Regions from separate parts of the Homo sapiens genome. Here region 2 is linked to region 1. The links are contacts of gene promoters, found by promoter capture Hi-C in blood cells and fetal thymus (Javierre and others, 2016). All regions are on one chromosome and are shown on one strand. The core of a region is centred on a gene start or on the middle of the fragment in contact, and the rest is flanking DNA. Distances in the headings are between cores, read along the strand shown.

Region 1 (5,141 bases), core at 1,044-3,543:
GGGCAGATACATTTACATCTGACATCCTCGAAATTCTGTAACCAAAATGGAAACAGTATAGTGCGTTGACAGTTTATCATCAATATTTTTAAAAACTGTACCATATACATTTTGCCAAGCATCCTCTTTAGAATACCAAGTATTCTAAAATCATTCATTTAAAACTTTAACAGACACAGTTTTTAAAAGCCACAGTCCTTTATGGTAATGCCAATGAATCATTATATATTACATGTAGTTATTTTGAAATAATACCTAATACATGATCTAAGACTTATTAACCATATTTATGGGTCACATGACAATCAAATTATGTTAATGTTATTACCATCTATCTGCCACTAGAAAGACACATGGTAAGCAGATAGTTGTGCCTGTAAATAAGAATATTCATTACTAAAGGATGGGAAAGAAACTAAAAATTATTCACAAAAAAGGTCACAATTCTACCTATCATCCTTTCACCCTCTGGTAGAAGGCACTGACATTGATAAAACGGGTTGGGCCAGAGTCCCGTAGAAGGGATGAAATGTTAGAGGCACCCACCTACAACTAGAAAGGAAGTACACACAGGAAGTAGCCTGACTCTGAGATCAGTTTAGTATACTCTTCCCAGGAAACTTTGCTTCTAATTCCTGGTTGACAGACAGAACAACTACCAACAAAACAAGTTTCAAGAGGTGGAGGAACAGGTGACTAAGTATCTGGATAGAGAAAAGAAGAGATGCTTCCTCAGCAAAGGGGAATCTGTTTGAGAAGGAAGTGGCTTATCATTCCCCAGAGGACCTTGCCCACTCCTCCTATATACAGTGATATGTCTGGCAGAGCTATTGACAATTCACAAACGTATTCAGCAACCACTTAGTGAGCATTTGCTCTGTGTTAGATCTTGTGCTCAATAAGGTGGATTCAGATAAGCATAAGACATGGTTTCTGCCCATAACCAGGACACACCCTAGTAAAGGAGACTGAAAAATAAATACATGATCACAATACATAAAGTTATGAGGCAAGATATGCAGAGGGTGCCAGCAATGTTTTCAAAGTCAGGAGACGTGCTGCTGTCCCTGTTTCTGGTAGGAGGTAGAGATGGTTTCAAAAAGAATCTCTGAATCAAAAACATTTGCCTGCCTGTAACCTTTCCCCACTCCTACATTTAAAGATATTATAAATTAAAGCTCTTATTTTTAAAAACGCAATGTCATTCTGTTTTCCCATCATACTAATGTGAATCCCTTCTGTTCTCCCCCAATGATGAGCTAGCTCATCAAAGAGGAAGCACAGGTATGCATGGAGCTAGGGCAGGTCTGGAGAGCTGGGGCACCAGAGAACAGTATGAGGGAACTAGAAGGTCAAGAAATCGAACCAGGGAGGCCACAACCTCACCTCTCTTGCAGTTTGGTTCTTCCCTTACCCACTAAATTATCAGGAAGAGAGAAAGCAAGAAAGGCACCAAGGGACTCGTGGAGGGAGTTAGGTGAGAATATGAAGCAGGTGAGAGATGCTCCGTAGGCCCTATTGGGAGGGAAGTAGGCCAGGAGGGGCAAGTTCCCACCACAGGAAGGGAAGTGTTCAGGGGTGAGCTGAGCTGAGTCGGCCCTTGACAGGGAAGGCTCTGTCAGATGGGGGCTTCCTATCATTCTGGCTTGGGGCATGCGGGGCCTGTGAGGCTGGCGGAGGGCGCAGGTGGGCTGTCAAGAGCTTAGGGTGGAAAGTTAAAGGCTCTCGGAGGTGAAAAGGTTGTCAAGTGTAAGATGCGTGCAGCCGGGGCTGGGAAGGGAAATGTTAAGGCGGTGGGGGGCTGCTGTCCGGACTGTGGGCACTGTCGGGGCTGGGGACGACCGTGGGGCGCTGCCTGCCAGGCTGTCGGGGCTGAGGGCGAGAGTGCCGCCGGGCAGTCGGGAGGGGCGGGGCTGGTGGCGGCGGGGGTCTGCCGGAGCTGTGAGGCCAGGCGTATGGCTGTCAGGAATGGGCCAAGGAGCAGGTTGGCAGACCCAGTTTCCGCAAGGCCGGTGGTAGGGGAGGAGCTTCCGTCAGGAGCGAGGCTGGGCGGGACTCACCTTGGCGGCGTCTGACAGCTGCGCCAGCAGCAGCACGGAAAGCGCCAGGCACGACAGGCTGAGCAAGGAGCCAAGCCGAAGAAGGCCTCCCCACAGGGTCGCCATCGCTGGGGGCCCAGCGGTCCCACAGCCCGGAGCCCCCGCGACCGGCTCCCGGCTCGGGCTCAGGCTCAGGCTCAGGCTCAGGCACAGGCTTGGGACCCGGCTGGGGATCCTCCGCCCGCACTTCCGTCTGGACGCGAAGGCGTCACCGGGCGCGCCGGGTCAGATGCAAAAAGCATCCGCCCCGGAACCGGTTACCAGTGCGAAGGGCCGGGAGGCTGGGCAGTCCTGGTGCCCGCCTTGGCCTAGCCCCGGCCCCGGGACGGAAGGGGGCCTCTGGGGTGGCAGCCTGGGCCCAGTAGAGCTTTGCATCTCTTGGATATCTTTCCCGGGCGCAGAAGCTGCGGGGCTTAGGGAGTCGCCATTGCGCTGGAAAGTCCTCCCGCCCACGGAGACCCCAGCAAACTCCGAGTGTCACACAGTCGCCTCTGGCGACCCGTGCGGGCCGGAGCCGTTCGCGCACAGGCAGGGCGGGTGCTGAGCGTGGAAACGGGGCTGGAATTGGCCGAGCCATGCCTTTCCGGGATGCCCACCGCCAGTCAAAGGGTTGGGGGTGGTCTCTGCACCTTAAGTACTAACCTGCCGCCCACGCGCCTCCTGACCACAGCACCCCGTCGGCTTTCTAATTCTGTGAGCTGCCCTCGTGGGCGTGGCCTCCCTGTGGAGCTCCCCATGTGCCTCCCCTTGGTCCAGCCTGCAGCTAGGAAGTGGGTCACAGCGACGGGGCTGGGCTGGGCCAGGCCAGGCTCCGGGAGATGTGGAATTGGCGAAACAACTGCCCCAGTAGTATCCTCCGCCTAGGACTCCAAGAGGTGGCGAATTGGGGCACTACGCCCGGGTAAGGCAGTGCCTGTTCAGGGCTGCCGACCTGTCTCCCCAGGGCTGTCATTCTCAGCAAGTACTTTAGGAGTGCCTTAGATCGGCACATTCTCCCATTGAAATATTTTTGTTAGTGGAGACAAGGGAGGTAATGGCAAGGACACGGATCATCACAGCCCCTAGGGATTTGTTGAATGACCTTTGGCAAATCACTTCCCTTCTCTGGGCCTGTAGTTCTTGGCTGAATATGAGGGAATGGATTTCAAATTATGCTCCATGTAATACCCGTGTTTTTACCTCTGTAAACAGATTTTTTTGTTTTTTTTGAGACGGAGTCTCGTTCTGTCCCCCGGGCTGGAGTGCAGTGGCGCGATCTCGGCTCACTGCAACCTCCGCCTCCCGGGTTGACGCCATTCTCCTGCCTCAGCCTCCCTAGTAGGTGGGACTACAGGCGCCCGCCACCACGCCGCCCGGCTAATTTTTTTTTTCTTTTTCTTTTTCTTTTTTTTTTTTTGTATTTTTAGTACAGACAGGGTCTCACTGTGTTAGCCAGGATGGTCTCGATCTCCTGACCTTGTGATCCGCCCGCCTCGGCCTCCCAAATTGCTGGGATTATAGGCGTGAGCCACCGCGCCCGGCCCCAACAGATTTTTAAAGATGGTCTTTTCCCAATTTGTGGAAATGTTTTAACAGAATGCTCTCAATATTTTTCGCCCATGTGATTCTTAGATTCATGTGAATCTAACACAACGTATCTGATACTGTTCCCAACAGGAACCAGGGTGGCAGGGCTAGATGTCCTCTCACCAGACTGCCCAGTGAAGGTGCTGTCACTTTGATGAATTATCAAGGCTTTGTAGTGGGTCTTCTACTGGACAAAGGACAAACTGGAGACTCCCTGGATCAAATGTGTTGGTGAGGCACTGAATCTGATTGCTGAAAGGTGATTCAGCTGCAAGTTAGGCATCAGTTTAGGGTTTTCTAGGCTTGGCATCTAAAGGGAGTGCCTGCTGTAGCTGAAACCTCATAGGCCTTCTCTTCCTTCCGAATTGTTTTCAAGGCCTTGGGGGTACAGAGACTTAGAGAAAATACATAGTTGTGCCTCAGACTGATGGGCCTCATCTGTTTAATGGAGAAACACCAAGCACACTCAGTCTGGGCGGAATTTTAGAGCTCCATAGTATAACCACTATCTAGCTACATGTGGCAATTGAGCATTTGAAATGTGGCTAGACTGAATTGAAATGTGCTGTATAAAATATACACTTAATTTCAAAGACAATATTTTTAAAATGTAAAATATTTCAGTAATTTAAAAATATGGTTTAAATATTTTAGATATGTTGGGTTAAATAAAATATATTAGTAAAATATTTCACTTGTTTTTTGACCTCTTAAATGTGGCTGCTAGAAAATGTTATAGTGCTGTCAGGAAGTGCTGTTCTGGAATACAGAATGTGGCTGCCGTGAGTGGAGTGTGACTATGAGATAGTCGCCTGACTGGAGACAATGAAGCCTCAGGCCAAGGTAAGAGGGCTGACAAGGAAGAACTGGCACAACTAGAGCCGAATGTTTGGGGGAGGTATATGTCTGCCAAAAAATGAATATAATTTCAGGTGACTCAATAGAAGTGGAGGGATCAGTTTCTCTTGTTCTGCCCTGCTCTTATCTAGGTAACTCTTACTTTTCCTTTAGGTCAGGGTTCTTCTAAGCCAGAAAACCTTCACTGACTTAAGTGCACTCCTTTCTATGTTTGCATAGATCTCTTTCTTAACTTTACCCCATTATAGTAAAATTATGTTTTCACATTTGCCTTTATACCCAAACCTCCACCAAAATATTGTGAGCTCTCTGAGGGTAAGGACTTTGTCTTATTATTGTTATACCTGGAGACAGATTAAAACAATATGATGTTTGTGGGGACCAGGGAAAAGGGGAATGGGAGAGGCTCCTCTGGTTAGTCTAAAAGAAAAGTATCAGGCACCTACTTGAATCCTCATTTGATTTCTTTCTGACCATGAGAGGGGATGCTGAGATGCCCAAAGATGTGCAAATGGCGGGATCCGGCGCACCATAGTAGGCAGGGGAGTGAAGATTTCTCACCTCGGGTCTTCCTAGACCTTCAGGTCACACGGGAATTGTTCTGTTTATAGACGGCGC
Region 2 (5,141 bases), core at 1,857-4,356, 540 kb after region 1:
TCGTGCCTGTGAAGAGCCACTGCATTCCAGCCTGAGCAACATAGTGAGACTCATCTCTTAAAAAATTTAACAAACTTACTATATATAGATAAATATCTGTATCTGTCTATATAAAGAGAGATTTTTTCCCCTTCCCCAGAAGTTGTTTGCCTAATTTGAGCTCATCCTAGAAAAGGGTACATGAGAATCAAAAGCAAAGGCTACTTCTTGCTTGACAGTTTAAAGGCCTTTCGTATTCCAAGATTGTATAAAGCAAATATGAAGGAAAGAAACATAATTGGTAAAGCAGATTTTTTTGTTTTTGAGACAGTGTCTCACTTCAGTGCCCAGGCTGGTGTGCAGTGGCACAGTCACAGCTCACTACAGCCTTGACTTCTTGTGCTCATGTGATCCCCCCATCTCACCCTCCCGAGTAGCTGGGACTTACCACTGTGCACCACTACACCCAGCTAATTTTTTGAATTTTTTTTGTAGAGACGGGGTTTCGCCATGTTGCCCAGGCTGGTCTTGAACTCCTGAGCTCAAGTGATCCGCCTGCCTTAGCCTCTCAAAGTGCTGGGATTACAGGCATGTGCTGCTGTGCCTGGCCAGACTTTTTATAAGCTTAGATTATGAGGGTAGTAGTAGTATGTCCAGCAGGTATTTTTGACATATGTGCTAGGCACTAGATTTTCTTTTTTTTTTTTTTGGTTCAGTAACACAAGTATGTATTGAACACCTACTATTTCCTGACACAGTTAATATTAGGCATTATCTTGTTGAACATTAGTTAAAACACCATTTTTTTTTCTCTTGAGATGGAGTCTCGCTCTGTCGCCGAGGCTGGAGTGCAACGGTGTAATCTCGGCTCACTGCAACCTCCGCCTCTTGAGTTCAAGCGATTCTCCCGCCTCAGCCTCTCGAGTAGCTGGGATTACAGGCGCCCGGCACCATGCCCAGCTAATTTTTTGTATTTTTAATAGAGAAAGGGTTTCACCATGTTGGCCAGGCTGGTCAAAACACCATATTTTTAAAGAGCAAAAATTATTTTCCTGCAAGATATTGTAGAATAAATCAAGTAGGATACAAGCTTTTAGGGAATTCTGGGTTTGTTCTAATTTAATTCATATTCCTGACTGTACTTTTCTTTTATATTTCTTATGTTTTTCTCTCTGCTTTTCTCAGCTCATTTTTTGCCTACCTGGATGATTCCATCTTGGAGAGCTATGTAATCAGTGATTAGTTTTGAATACCATTCCCAGTTTCTTATGTAGATTTAAGTTTGGAGTGGAAGATGCTGTTTCCCCAACCCCCCCAAAAAAATGCCTGAAAGGGAAGCTCAGCACAAGAAGGCTAGAGTCTTGAGCATAATCCTAGGCAGGATTGAAGGATAAGACATTTTAATCCTCTATATATTTTTGCACCATTTAATGTATTACCCTTTATATTTGCAGGAGAAAGGCCCTTTAAGTGTCCCTTCGAAGGCTGCGGTCGGTCCTTTACAACATCAAATATCAGAAAAGTGCACGTTAGGACACACACAGGAGAAAGACCTTATTACTGCACAGAGCCAGGATGTGGGAGGGCATTTGCCAGTGCAACAAATTATAAAAACCATGTGAGGATACACACAGGTAACAATCTCTGATCTTTTGGTCTTTTATCTTTCAAGGCTCAGTTTAACTCCTGCCTTTTCCAGAAACCATTTCCAACTAATCTCTTCCCTCCTTTCTATCACTTGGCATGGTGGAAAGAGATTAAGCAACTTGAAAAAGTTTCACCTTAACAGTCATACATTCATTTATTCAACAAACAGTTATTGAGTATCTCCTGCCAGGCATCAAACATAGAGAGATAAGACATTGTCAAGGGCAGGCTACTTGGGAAGAGATAGTAGACATACAGTTGCTGCAGTGTCTCCCATTATATGGACAAGATGCTGTGGGAGCAGAGAGGGGAGCAGTCACTTCTGCAGGAATGGGAGAAGCATTTTGGGAGGGGTTTCTGGGAGATATTTGGCATACAGACTCAATCCTGAAGTTTGCCACATAAGAGAGAAGGGTATTCCTGGCAGGGGAAATGTCATGGGGAAAGGCACAAAGGTATGAAAAAGCATGATACTCAGTGGTTCCATATGACAGGAGCATTAAGTACATGTAGAAGATTTGTACAAGGTGAGTTCTGAGAGGTAGCCAGAGGCCTTGTGTGTTGTGCTGTCAAAGTTAAGGTACTTCTTAAACTGGACTTTGTGAAGCTTGTGAGGGGGCGGGGTGGTCTATGGATATATTCTTTTTTTTTTTTTTTTTTTTTTTTTTTTGGGATGGAGTTTCGCTGTTGTTGCCCAGGCTGGAGTGCAATGGCGCGATCTCGGCTCACTGCAACCTCCGCCTCCCAGGTTTAAGCGATTCTCCCACCTCAGCCTCCCTAGTAACTGGGATTACAGGCATGTGCCACCATGCCCGGGTAATTTTGTATTTTTAGTAGAGACGGGGTTTCTCCATGTTGGTCAGGCTAGTCTGAAACTCCCAACCTCAGGTGATCTGCCCGCCTCGGCCTCTCAAAGTGCTGGGAATCCAGGTGTGAGCCACCGCGCCTGGCCATATTCTTTTTTTTTTTTTTTTTTTTTTTTGGGAAACTGCTTTATTGAAATATAATTCACATACTATACAATTCATCTATTTAAAGTGTATGGGCCGGGCGCGGTGGCTCACGCCTGTAATCCCAGCACTTTGGGAGGCCGAAGTGAGCGGATCACGAGGTCAGGATATCGAGACCATCCTTGGCTAACATGGTGAAACCCCATGTCTACTAAAAACACAAAAAATTAGCCGGGCATGGTGGCGGGTGCCTATAGTCCCAGCTACTCCGGAGGCTGAGGCAGGAGAACAGCATGAACCCGGGAGGCAGAGCTTGCAGTGAGTTGAGATCGCACCACTGCACTCCAGCCTGAGCAAGAGCGAGACTCCATCTCAAAAAAAAAAAAAAAGTATGTGTTTCAGTGTTTTTTAGTATATTCACAAGGTTGTGCAACCATCACCACAATTCAATTTTAGAATATTTTCATTTCCCCTAAAAGAAATTCCATACTCAGAAGCAGTCCTTTCCCCACCCCGCCCCCCAGGTGTAAGCAATCACGAATCTACTTTCTCTTCTATGGGTTTGCCCATTCTGGATATTTTCATATAAATGAAATCATGCAGTATGTGGGGGGTTTTTGTCTGACTTCGTTCTCTTTGCATAATGGAGTGCAGTGGCGCAATCTCGGCTCACTGCAAGCTCCGCCTCCTGGGTTCACACCATTCTCCTGCCTCAGCCTCCCAAGTAGCTGGGACTATAGGCGCCTGCCACCATGCCTGGCTAATTTTTTGTATGTTTTAGTAGAGACGGGGTTTCACTGTGTTAGCCAGGACGGTCTCGATCTCCTGACCTCGTGATCCACCTGCCTCGACCTCCCAAAGTGCTGGGATTACAGACATGAGCCACCGCTCCTAGCCTGCATAATGTTTTTGAAGTTCAACCATGTTGTAGCAACTTTTAAATTCTTTCTTTTTTCAGTAACTGAATAGTATTTCATTATATGGATGTACTACATTTTGTTTATTCACCAGTTGTTTTCACTTCTGGCTATTAAGAATAATAATAGATTACATATGTCATATGTATTCCTTATATGCAATGAGCATTCATGTACAAGTTTTTATGTGGACATGTTTTCATTTCTCTTGGATGTGTACTTAGGAGTGGACTTGCTGGGTCATATGGTAACTCCATGCTTAACATTTTAGGAACTTCCAAACTGTTCTCCCAAGTGGCTGCACCATTTTACAGTCTCATCAGCAATGGATGAGGGTTCCAGTTTCTCCACATCCCAGCTAACAGTTGTTATTATCCCAGCTAACAGTTGTTATTATCTGTCTTTTTTTATTATAGCCATCTTAGTAGGTGTGAATTGGTATCTCATTCCGACTTTTGATTTGCATTTTTCTGATGGCTAATGATGTGAAGCTTTTTTTTTTTTTTTTGAGACGGAGTCACGCTCTGTCTCGCCCAGGCTGGAGTGTAGTGGTGTGATCTCAGCTCACTGCAGCCTCCGCCTGCCGGGTTCAAGCGATTGATTGATTGATCCTGTTTCAGCCTCCTGAGTAGCTGGGACTACAGGTGTGTGCCACCACACCCAGCTAATTTTTGTATTTTTAGTAGAGACAGGGTTTCACCATGTTGGCCAGGCCGGTCTCAAACTTCTGACCTCAGGTGATTCACCTGCCTTGGCCTCCCAAAGTGGTGGGATCACAGGCATGAGCCACCACGCCTTGCCTTTTTTTTTTTTTTTTTTTTTTTTTTGAGACAGAGTCTTGCTGTGTCACTCAGGCTGGAGTGCAGTGGCGCAATCTTGGCCTGCTGCACCCTCCACCTCCCACGTTCAAGCAATTCTTCTGCCTCAGCCCCCACAAGTAGCTGGGATTACAGACACCTGCCACCACACCCAGCTAATTTTTGTATTTTTAATAGAGATAGGTTTTCACCATGTTGGCCAGGCTAGTCTCAAACTCCTGACCTTGTGATCCTCCCACCTCAGCCTCCCAAACTGCTGGGATTACAGGTTTGAGCCACCACACCTGGCCAAAGCATCTTTTTATGTATTTATTAGCCATGTGTATATCTTCTTTGGAGAAATGTCTATTCAAATCCTTTGCCCGTTTTTAAAATTGGGTTGTGTCTTTATTACTGAGTTGTATAACTTTAATTCGAGAGACTTGAATCCAAGTCTCTTATTAGATATATTAGTTACAGATATTTTCTTCCATTCTGTGGCTGGTTTTTTAATTCTCTTAATGATATTTGCAGTATAGAAGCTTTTAATTTTAATGCTCCATTTTGTGGATGTATTTTTGGTGGGTGAGAATGGAAAGGCAAATGTGAGCGTAAGGCAGGATATGCATTAGTTTTATAAGAAAAATTTTAATATATTGTTTTATTACTGGTATTAAGAGTAAACTTGTGTTAATTCAAAATTAAAAGACATTTTTTTCTTTTTTCTTTTTTTTTTTTTTTTTTTGAGACAGCGTCTCGCTCTGTTGCCCAGGCTGGAGTGCAATGGCGTGATCTCAGCTCACTGCAACCTCCGCCTCCTGGGTTCAAGCGATTCTCCTGCCTCAGCCTCC

Evidence for each region. The method cuts DNA at HindIII sites, captures the fragments that hold promoters and counts their contacts. A CHiCAGO score of 5 or more calls a contact.
Region 2: a contact is called between a fragment that was not itself captured here and the fragment with the promoter of TMEM9B in region 1, in 1 of 17 cell types (total CD8 T cells). The highest score is 5.0, in total CD8 T cells.

What each region holds. Positions count from the first base shown.
Region 1 is chr11:8,962,149-8,967,289 of GRCh38, forward strand. TMEM9B (TMEM9 domain family member B) reads right to left here and starts at 2,294. Exons shown (of 5, transcript NM_020644.3): 1 at 2,061-2,294; 2 at 1-35. The coding sequence starts at 2,165. TMEM9B-AS1 (TMEM9B antisense RNA 1) reads left to right here and starts at 2,527. Exons shown (of 5, transcript NR_073431.1): 1 at 2,527-3,000; 2 at 3,756-3,896; 3 at 4,393-4,508. RefSeq lists silencers at 1,758-1,947, 1,988-2,487. The HindIII fragment of the contact is 10,613 bases long and covers 1-5,141 here.
Region 2 is chr11:9,499,658-9,504,798 of GRCh38, forward strand. It overlaps ZNF143 (zinc finger protein 143), which reads left to right. Exons shown (of 16, transcript NM_003442.6): 11 at 1,434-1,613. Among named protein-coding and RNA genes, the nearest start is that of ZNF143, 41 kb to the left of the region's middle. The HindIII fragment of the contact is 1,751 bases long and covers 2,232-3,982 here.